Linked DNA regions of Homo sapiens: region 1 is linked to region 2. Evidence: promoter capture Hi-C in 16 types of primary human blood cells and fetal thymus (Javierre and others, 2016). All regions are on one chromosome and are shown on one strand. The core of a region is centred on a gene start or on the middle of the fragment in contact, and the rest is flanking DNA. Distances in the headings are between cores, read along the strand shown.

Region 1 (5,631 bases), core at 2,990-5,489, 440 kb after region 2:
AATTCATGCTTATTCATTATAAGGACTTGCCTATTTTTATATTTAGTAATTTGTTTCTTATTGCATGCCAAATAGTGACTACAAAAAAAAAAAAAAAGATATTCCCGAAGATTTCTTTCACCAGAGCGTTCAATCCTCTCTGTAATGAAGTTAAGGCTGATAAACTTAATCCGATCAGAAAACAATTAGGGTTTGATCATACTTATTGTTTCGGTAAGGTGCGGTATACCTCCAGTTCACCCTATGTCTAAGGCATGTTCCTTCCAGCTTGCACTTAAGAACTTGGACTTTCTATGGCTCCTCAACAAGAAGAGACTACAAGAATGTCCACTCTTGTGTTTTCAGAGGTTTCTGGCATCTTCAATCTAACATTACACACAGCTTTAAAATTTGGCAGATCTTGTGGAAGGAAGATAACTGTATTTGAGGCCCCACATGTATGCAGTTTGTGCACTCTAATCCCATGCAATTACCGCAATTTCTGCATGTTTTACAGACTCCAACTGATATAGTTTGGCTGTGTCCCCAAGTCACAATTCCTCCTGGGTTTTATATTTTCTTTAATTCTCAGAATGCAAATCCACTGCAGTTCTTTATGTCCTTAACACTAAGAGATTTGAGAGAATACCAGTTTGTTTTTCCAATATTTTCTATGTCTTTAGTTTATTACATGCCAAAATTTGAATTTAAAATATCGTGAATAGGAAGTCCTTCATTTGTTGGAGATCCTCCCATCAGTTTAGGTATTTCAGCACTACATAATTGCCAAAAACTGTGGACAAACCCACGTTCTATCTCTTACTCATACTCATAATTGATAAATACCTGCAGGGACATATGCAGGTCTTCAGCTGACTTCTAACTAGTTATACCTTTTTTTGAATTATACTCATTCTAGTACATGTGATGAGTGTATACATATGATGCAAAATCTAATTCCCCAAATATCATCAAAATAACAAGTTCATAAGAAAGCCATTTATTGTTTACCTTGGTAAGGGCTAATACAACCTCAAAAAGTTTTGACAGTGTCTTGGGGTAAGGAAAGGCAGGAAAATAATTTATTAATAATTGGACATTTGTTTTGAGTTTTTCCAAGCAAAGATTTGATTGGATTAGATCAAGATATGGCAGTCCAAGTTAATGGAAATAGAAGGCAAGGGCTTTGAAGCAAGGAATTGAAACAATCTAGGGAATAAACTTTCTTTCTGCTGATGTTTCTCATTGAATAATCCATGGGGTGTTCAGAAAATATTTGTAATGAGCAGCCAAAATATTTGCCTAGGCAAAATCTCTAAAAAAAAAATAAATAAAAACTAGGGTGTGCGAATGAAAATAAAGGAACTTCAGAGTCATAATAATGCGACTTCAGGTGTGTTTTTCATTCTTACCTTCTAGGTTGTGTATAGGGATAGACAGTTTCAGGTCTCAAAGATAATTATAATTTATTCCTTTTTTTCCCTGTAAATTCTCAGTGGAAGTGATAAACTATAATTAATTATTATATCCTACCTGAAGTGGTAGTCTCATAATTTTTAAAATATCTTTTTAAATAGAGATAACAGAGGCTATTTAATTATGTATATACTATGTATCTTTCTTCTATCAGTAATCCATACATGGCAGAAACCTGATCAGTTGACTATAAACCCGATCAGTTGACTATGCGATTAGCTTATATCAGATAATATAATGTTACATGTACCAGAGCCAAATTATCTTCAGTGTCTTCTCAGACCTAACACTAGCAGCCACTATCGTACTTCTATCTTCCAGTTGATCTGATGTTAAAAAGAAAAATCTCAACTATGTCTATATACCTAAAACCTGTGGTTTTCTAGAATACTTGAATAATAAGTACAATTGACTTATGTCATGTGAAATTTTCCCTTCCATCTTTCCTTGCCCTCCATGTCTCTTGGATACTAAGTCAGGGAAATTTAGAATCACAATAAAGAGTAGTGCAAAGTCCAAGAATTAAATAGGGATTGCAAGTGTTCTTCTGCAGAGACAACGCTACAGATACTGGAGAGAATAGTCTCTTCTTACAACCGTCTTACAGGCTTAGACCTCTGCCCACAGATTCTCATAAATCACTCAACCATTAGAATATTATATTATCACTTTCCTTTCCGAAGAGTAGGATTAGCAAAAGAGAACGGTTACTTTTTTCCTTTAATGAATGAAATTATAAATAATTAATTTTTAAAATTTAAATTTGTGATTTCTAAAGAAGTATATTCAAAAAACTAGATTTACGGAGTAAATTTTTAAAATGTTTTTCAAATAACTTCATTACCAAAATGATAATTACCTCAAAATTTTTTAAATGATAAATTCCTTGTATGAGCATATTATACTAAAATGACAAACTCTCATTTTTTCTTTATAGAGTTAACTTTCAGTTCACCAACCCTATCACTATATTTTCCTAAATCACAAAATAAGTTCAGTATTGTGTGCAGTTATATAGAAGGATCATACCACAAATAAAGAGGAAATATGAATTCAGATTTGAGCTCACAGTAACTGAGATTTTTTTTCAATAGTTAGAATGTACACAGTGGATTGAAGTTGTGAAATTATTTTCCTAAAAAATAATTAAGCTGAGGCTTCTGACCATGTTTTAGTAGGTTCATAAATGGATTTTTGCAATGGATATAAGTTTTAAGAAGATTTCCTCTGTGATACTCCAGATATAGGCATGATAAATAAACCTGCATTATACTGTGAAAATAAAGAGACTATAATTGGTGGGGCTGCACTAATTACAATTAGCTATTAACTACAGTTGTTTGAATGAAGCTATCTTATACAATGTATATCAGAATAATGAAGTTGATGATGACAACCTGTGTTTACTGAGATGACCTTGCCATTGTCCTGATACATTTTGGTACCAGGTGTTATAAAGTCCTCTGTCTTGTCAGAAAACATCTGGTGATACTAAGCTCTACAGAAGCTTTCAATGCCACAAAAATAATTCATTAATTTTCAGTACTAGTAATCATAAATAATATTTTTAGAGTTTCCATGTGGTTTTTGAGAAATTTAAATGGCAGTAGTTACAGTTTTAAATATTTGAACTATTTGTAAAGAACCTCCACAATAAAGACGGTCCTTTGTAGAATGCCAAGTGTTAAAAACAACCTCCTCGATATTACTGAAAATGAAAATTACCTCTTCAAATTAACACAACAGCATTTCCATGAAAATTATGAATGTGTTTCTAGAGAAAATATTTACATTGGCAATAAGCCTAGTAACTATTCTCTAGGAGTCTCTCAGAAATTAACATGCTTGGAATCCTTCAATTACTAGGTCCCCAGTGACATAAGAATTCATGTAAAAGCCCTTGGTTGTATTGGTGAAATTATTCCCTTAAGCAACTTGCAACAGTTCCTTCCTCAGTAAGTAGCTTCTGCGGTTATTGGACTGGCTTTAATCGTGCAAAAAAAAAAAAAATCAACTTTTGTTGGTCTGAGAGCAAGAACCACTGATTTGAGTACAAATAGTTTTGAAAGTACATTTATCATTCAATATTGTACTGACAAGGTAATCTATCTTTTATCACCCTTTCTGATATAGCTTCCACAGGGTCTAAAATGTCTTTTGTTTAAATAAGCCTTTTGTTACTGATAGGAGAACCAAAGCATATCTACCTACCTTATAACTTGAATTAACTTATTTTATAACATAAGATTGTTTTGTTATGTTTGGAAAGAACTTATTGAATCATAGTATGTTAGTAAGATTTATTTGTTAATTCCCTTTTAAAAAGAAGAATCCAAGAATCACTGTCTTTTCCTACCACTATCCTCATGCCTCTTCTCTTCCTTTTAATATTTCTCTAAATAGAATTTTTTGACTATCAGAAGGAATGACCAATGTGAAGTTGCCAAGAATACATGCCCCACATTTTTGGGAAGTATGCGAACCATAGAATGGTCATACTGTTAATATTCTCCCCGTCCTCATGCTTGCTTTCATGGGCTTTGATTTCATACACCCCTGAGTTTGAATTGCACTGGTCAACTACATGTTGAATGACCTTGAGATACTATCCTAAGCATTAATGTTCTCATCCAAAATATGGAGCTAATAAAAAGAATCCTGTTTATAGAGAACCAGTGTATCATGTGGCTTTGGAGTCAGAATTTTGGGTTCTAATCCTGTTTCCATCACATCCTAAATCTCAAATTCTCTCTTTCTTAGTTTCCTTCATCTGTAAGAAAAAGATCATAATGATAGTAACTCCATGGTAATTTTGTTAGTTTTTTGGTGACAATTAAATGAGTTATAGGTGAAGTGTTAAGAATATTGCATTACACATAGTAAGCATTATACAGGTGACAATTATTGTTAGTAAAATTTGACAGGTAGCTCTAGTCATAATCTAAGAATAAAATGGCAGCGTGGCAATCAAAACTAATTTTTGATGTTATCTACTGTATGTCAGTCTCCCTAAAGAATGACACATGGAAAGATAAGTAGGTAGATAAAGGGACAGAAAGGGGGGGCAGAACATTTTCCCTATTTAATCCATACAGAAACACTATGAGATATTTATTATCATTGTTGTAGTATAGATTAGGATAATTTATATTAAGTGGCACAAGGTCACACAGCCCCCATGCAGCCAAGATGGGCATCTAATCAAATTCCTCCTAAATCGAAGTGATGTCTTATATTGTCTAAATACCTTGACTATTTTCAAACAAGCAAAATGAGAATAACCACTGTCCTGCTGTAGTGCTGCATCTCATTCACACGCTTTGAGGTGATAACATAAGGCAGCACTTTGAGCACGTGATTAACCCTTCTGATTATCAATAGGCTTCTCAGTGTTTATGTCATTGGGTAGTTTTATTGCTTACATGAGATAAATAAATTGTCTTTAGCACTGTCATTGTCATAATATCTATTATGTAAATGAGGCAGTGACTCAAATATTTTTAATTCCCATCTTGGCCCTCTCAACATGAACTTTAGAGATTGATGCTTTGCTTGCTTTTTTTTGTTGTTGTTTTGTTTTTTACGTATTTCCAAGTCTATCCTTCATGGTCAAAATCAAATTATTTGTACTTCAAAGTCAAGTTAAAAATTTTTATAATTCTGTAAGTATTTTGAGACCTCAGAAGCAGTGTTTAACAGATTTTTCTGACTCAACACTTTGTATTATACTACCATAACAATAAATGCAACAATTGTTCTTTACTTATAAAATTTAATCAGTGATGATGCCATATATAGTAATGTTATTTAATTGCAAGTTAACATATAACTAAATGTTTTGCTGACTGTACTTGGTCAGTCCACTAATGTTTAATGAGCATTTCCAGGAAGCCAAGGAGTTCGATAAATGCCAGAAGTATTGAAACAAGTAGTTAACTAATTTTATCAGCTTAGTTTAGTATGTGAACAGGGTTTATGGAATTACACTAAGCTCTTTTCTGTCAAAAATATCCTCAGAGCTGGTATTTACTGACATTTGTTTTTATTTCGCTAAAGCTTCTGCTTTACAGTAAAAAAAAAATTAGCCGGCATATTTCATCACACCACTCTATTTACTCAGTCAAGAGACACAGCATACCGGTATCTATCAAATCCTGAAAACAAGAAGCAGATGTT
Region 2 (5,388 bases), core at 2,715-5,214:
ATATTTCCATGTTTCAATATCTTAGATGCTTATGCACTTTGACAACTTAATTTTTCACATTGGTGTTTCTATAATTTGTGCTTATCTGGTGCCCGTAGGGATGCATGAATTTATTTGCTACTAAAGATTGTTTGCCCGATCAAAAATAAAAGTTAAAGAAAAGATTGTTTGCCAATTATTTGCCATTAAATACAGACTCATACTTTCACATTTTTTGGAAATATTTTGTTGTGATATGTTCCACAGGTGGACTAATTTGTTAACGAGTTTGAAGCACTTGTCAAATGAAACATGACTGTCCTCAAAACGGACAAAACCAACTTAACAAAATCATCCGCAAAATTTAAGCGGAAATCATGACAAATCTTTTTCTCCTATATTAACAGTTATATAACAAATCCTCAGTTTTAACCTGAAAATTTTAAGCTTTAATTGTGATTGGATAATTTTCCAAATGTTTAGCTTTTTCAAGTTAGGTATGAAATTGTAAAAATTACAATTAAAAAATTTTTCACTCAAACAAAAGTTTTTAATCATAATCTTTTTTGATTTTGGGACAATTAATTTAACAGCTGATATATTTTTATCTTCATACTGCTTCATTTTATGAATTTAATAGTTGATATTTTCTTCACCTCATTTTACTTTTTATATTTCATACTTTCTTATAAGATCAGGAAACTAGAGTATACATAAATAGAATAAACTGTTGAGGACTTCCAACTCAGCAAATGTTAGATTTAGAGCTCACATTCAGGCTTTTATTCCCCAAAATATCTACGCCCTTTAGTAGAATGGCTGATGCACAGACAATGTACCAGCCTGCTAAGATAAGAGGTTATGCTTTTTTTTTTGAGACAGAGTCTCGCTCTGTCACCAGGCTGAAGTGCAGTGGAGCGATCTCTGCTCACTGCAACCTCCGCCTCCTGGGTTCAAGTGATTCTCCTGCCCCAGCCTCCTGAGTAGCTGGGACCACAAGCATGCACTACGACGCCCCACTAATTTGTAATATTTTTAGTAGAGATGGGGTTTCACCGTGTTGGCCAGAATGGTCTTGATCTCTTGACCTTGTGATCTGCCTGCCTCGGCCTCCCAAAGTTCTGGGATTACAGGCGTGAGCCACCACGCCCAGCCAAGAGGTTATGCATTTAAGAACATTAATTATAACCTTTCAATATATAGATGACAGACTTAACATCTTCTGCCAGAGCTTAATCCTATGTGAGACAATAGGAAGGCACTGAAATGTTCAAGTAGTAGATACATGTGTTTAAAGAAAAAAGGAGGAAATAAACTTTTGAGAACTGTGGGTCATGCTACTCCTATGTCTCTACAACCTCACAAATATATAAGAAAATTATTGAAAATGGACACTAACCTAAAGCAGGTTATTTAAGAATTATTTCTATTTTAATATAATCTCTCAGTGGGCATTAATAGTATATTTCTAATCTTTTGCCATTAAGTATGGAAACAGGCTACAGATGAAAAAAAGTGAAGCAAAAATATTAAATGATAGGCATGATTCATAAAATCAAATCTTTCTTAGGCTAAATGATGAAAACACATGAGCACATAGAGGGGAACAACACACACTGGGACCTTTCAGAGGCTGGAGGCTGGGAGGAGGGAGCCAATCAGGAAAAATAACTAATGGGTTCCAGGCTGAATACCTGGGTGATGAAAAGATCTGTACAACAAACCCCCTGACACAACTTTACATATGTAACAAACCTGCACTTGTATCCCTGAACTTAAAATAAAAGTTAAAAAGATACTTTAAAATGATTACTCTCTCTCTCTCTCTCTCTTTCTCTCTCTCTCTATTATCAATTTATCAGCTGTGGTGTACAATAATCTTCATTTATAAATTGCTCCCTCACGTTTATGTGACTTATAATTAGTAGACTAGCACTCAAGTCTGCAGGTTCATAGAAGGAAGGGAAATGATACTCAAGTGCCTACCATGAATTATTACCCCTTTCCATATTGCTTAGTCCTATAAAAGTCTCTAAACTGAGTAACATTATTCTCATTTATCTGATGAGTAAACTCATAAGAGCATACCTAGAGCACAATGACATGTTTGGGATCTAACCACATACTTTGACTATAAGGCATGTGCTTATTCACTCGGCTACATTGCCTACTGGGTTCATTGAGTTATAAGCTATACCTTAATAAATAATGACCAGCTTACCTGAGCTTTGCTGTGCACAACTGTATATAATCCTTGTTACTGGAAAAATGATTTATGATGTTTCAATGACTGTGAATATATTTGTTTGAATTATAATGCCCTCCCCTCCTCCCTCCAGAATTCTATCCCTGAGTTACATTATTTACATTTTGGGAAAAAGTATAATGAGATCTTGTAGGCATAAGAAAAGCAGTTCTCTTAGAGAGTTAGTCTTCAGAGACAGAACAAGACTTCCAGGAAGTAGAAGGTACATTCAGTCAGTAACATAGGTGAGGTTAGAAAGCAGTACTCTTTGTATTAATAAAGACAATATGTTAAATGCATAAATATAGGACATTTTTATATTGTCATGTATTTTTTCAAAAAATTAGGAATTGAGAAAGAAAATGTTTAGACTATGTGTCTTTATTTTTCACGTGGGATATTGTAAATACAGCTTCAGAATCCTGAACTGGGGATGGACGGGGAGAGGAGTTAACTTTTGTCTGTGCTCTGCACATAACTAATTATATATCTTGATGATGACTTTTTATGCATTCTTCATTTGAGAAATAGGAAAATTGGTATAAAATATTATGCAAGAAAATTAATAATTTTAATATATTTTCCACTTGAAAAATAAGAGAAGTGTTGTAAATTCTTATAGTTACTTTTATACCTAACGTTCTAAGAGAAATTCTCTAGAAAATTGTATTACACAGCGAAAATATATGTATACATCACATATTGAGAAACAAGGATCCTGATAACTTATACTGGGAAAAAAATCATACCATGAAAGAAGTCCATTTTTCCTTACTCAAGTTACTTTCTTAATTTTATAAACACAAAACTCTAGTTTTTATTGATAATGATTTTCTTCAGAGCTTCTTTCACCTCCTTATTCTGGAGGCTATAGATTAAGGGATTCAACATGGGAATGATCACTGTGTAGAAGACAGAGGCCATCTTGTCTGTGTCCAGGGCATGGCTAGAGCTAGGCTGTAAGTACATAAAAATGAGGGTCCCATAGAATATGGTGACTGCCAGCATGTGAGAGCCACACGTCGAGAAAGCCTTCTGTCTTCCCTCAGCTGAATGCATCCTCAGGATGGCAGAAATGATGAACATGTAGGAGACAAAGACAATCAGAAGGGAGGAAATGAACATGATACCAGCACAGGCAAAGATCCAGAGCTGTTTGAAGCGAGTGTCTGAGCAAGTTAGCCTGAGGAGAGGCATGTCATCACAATAGAAATGGTTGACAATGTTGGAGTGGCAATAGGAGAGGCGGAAGGTGAGGATGGTGTGAAATAGTGCCATTAGGAAGCTATAGCTATAAGGAACTGCTACAAGTTGAATGCAGATTCCTGGAGTCATTACAACCATATACAATAGAGGGTTACAAATGGCCACATATCGGTCATAGGCCATGGAAGCCAGTAGCAAGGATTCTGATATCATGAAGGTGAGAAAGCAGCCCAGTTGAGTAGCACATGCATCAAAGGATATAACATTTTGTTTGTACAAGAAATTCCCAAGCATTTTGGGTGTAATGACAGAAGAGTAACAGAAATCCACAAAAGCTAGGTTGCTAAGAAAGAAGTACATTGGTGTGTTGAGACTTGTATCCGCTCTAATGAGTAGGATCAAACCCAAGTTGCCTACCACTGTGAAGAGGTAGATGGATAAGAATAGCACAAAGAGGGGCATCTTCAACTCCTGATGGTCTGTGAGGCCCACAAGAATAAACTCTGTCGCCTGGGTGCAATTGATGTGAGCCATATCTTTTCTGGCCATCTAAATGTGGAAGTAGAGAAAAGAGTTAAGTCTAAGTCATATTTTAATACTGTAAATCCTATATGTGGTGTTTTTATATTTATTGTATTGTAAAGAGTTTAATTAATTAGATTTATTTATTAATTTATTTAACTAATATAATGATTGTTAGCATACTGGAATTCTGGAAATGTGATGGAGAGCAAAAAGAATATAACACCGTATAAACATCTTTATATCTAAAGCATGAACTTACATGAATGTAGGGAATGAATCCTCACATAATCTTATCCTGTAAATTAGAGTAAAATTGATATTTGCTTTCTAAGAGATTTGGAAGTTTATGTTTCTTTACATTCAGTTTATGTCTGCTTTTTTATCTTTTATTAAAAAACTGATTTAATTACATTTTTTGCATTAATTTTTGTTTTCCTACTCTATTTAATGTTGTGTATCATCATTTTCTTATTCATTTTGGATAATTTTAAAATTGAATTATTGAATACCCAAATAGTATCAAATATCATGTCTCTCAACTCCTCTTTCTTCTCTCTCCCACCATTATATCTAGTAATGGAAAATAGAGCTTTCCTTAAAAACTTATAAATTTCACGCTTTGAAAATTACTATGCAAATAAATATATAAATAAAATAAGAGCCTGTGTTTCTTCACTGTTCTTCAGAGTTTACTAATAGCTCTTGAGTATTTACTTCTGCTCAATTAATCAAAGAATCCATTTCAGTTATTTGTGTTTTGTATTAATAAACATATTTATTGAGCAACATAATGTGGTAAGTAGTAACTTTCAAAAAATACTTATTTACCTTAATTTTATTCTAAATAAATTATATTTATTATATGTATAAGATACATATTAGATATGCAATATGTAAGTATATACTAGATATCCTAAAACCCTAATACAGATGGAACATTAATGTCTAATTATAGCAACATGGAAATTGATGGATAAGGACATAGGAACCCATAAATTCCAAATCTCTAATTGCATGTTAAAAACTGAACGTCAATTTTGAGTTAAAATAGGAAAAAGAAAAGAGAAAAGGGAGGTAAGTAAAAAGAGAATTTTTGGTCTTTGCACTGCTCAGACCAAACCCTTCTCAAGAAGACTAACTTTCAGACTCAAACTTTTTTATGACAAACTATAGAAATAAATACTTGTTATAAGATGGCATGGAACTAATAGATATATTGAGAATAATACTTTTGCTTCCCTGACATCCGCTTGTATTACATATTCTTTCGTTTTCTAGCGTAATCTGTTCCATTCTATTTAATTCAAACAATGCTTCTTGGGATCCTAAAAAGTGGATTTAAGATCTACTAGTAGTTACAAGCACAGTTTCAAAACCTACACACTAGTCCCCACACACTGAACCATTTTCACTAACATGAGTAGATAAGCAAC

The links. Contacts are between HindIII fragments. The CHiCAGO score rates a contact against its expected background, and 5 or more counts as called.
Region 1: a fragment that was not itself captured here is called in contact with the fragment with the promoter of OR8U1 in region 2 in 1 of 17 cell types (erythroblasts); the score reaches 5.6 in erythroblasts.

Annotation. Positions count from the first base shown.
Region 1 is chr11:55,936,852-55,942,482 of GRCh38, reverse strand. No RefSeq gene overlaps it. Among named protein-coding and RNA genes, the nearest start is that of OR5I1, 3.3 kb to the right of the region's middle. The HindIII fragment of the contact is 2,549 bases long and covers 2,965-5,513 here.
Region 2 is chr11:56,374,200-56,379,587 of GRCh38, reverse strand. It overlaps OR8U1 (olfactory receptor family 8 subfamily U member 1), which reads right to left and starts at 3,964. Exons shown (of 1, transcript NM_001005204.1): 1 at 3,035-3,964. The coding sequence starts at 3,964. The coding sequence ends at 3,035. The HindIII fragment of the contact is 6,958 bases long and covers 429-5,388 here.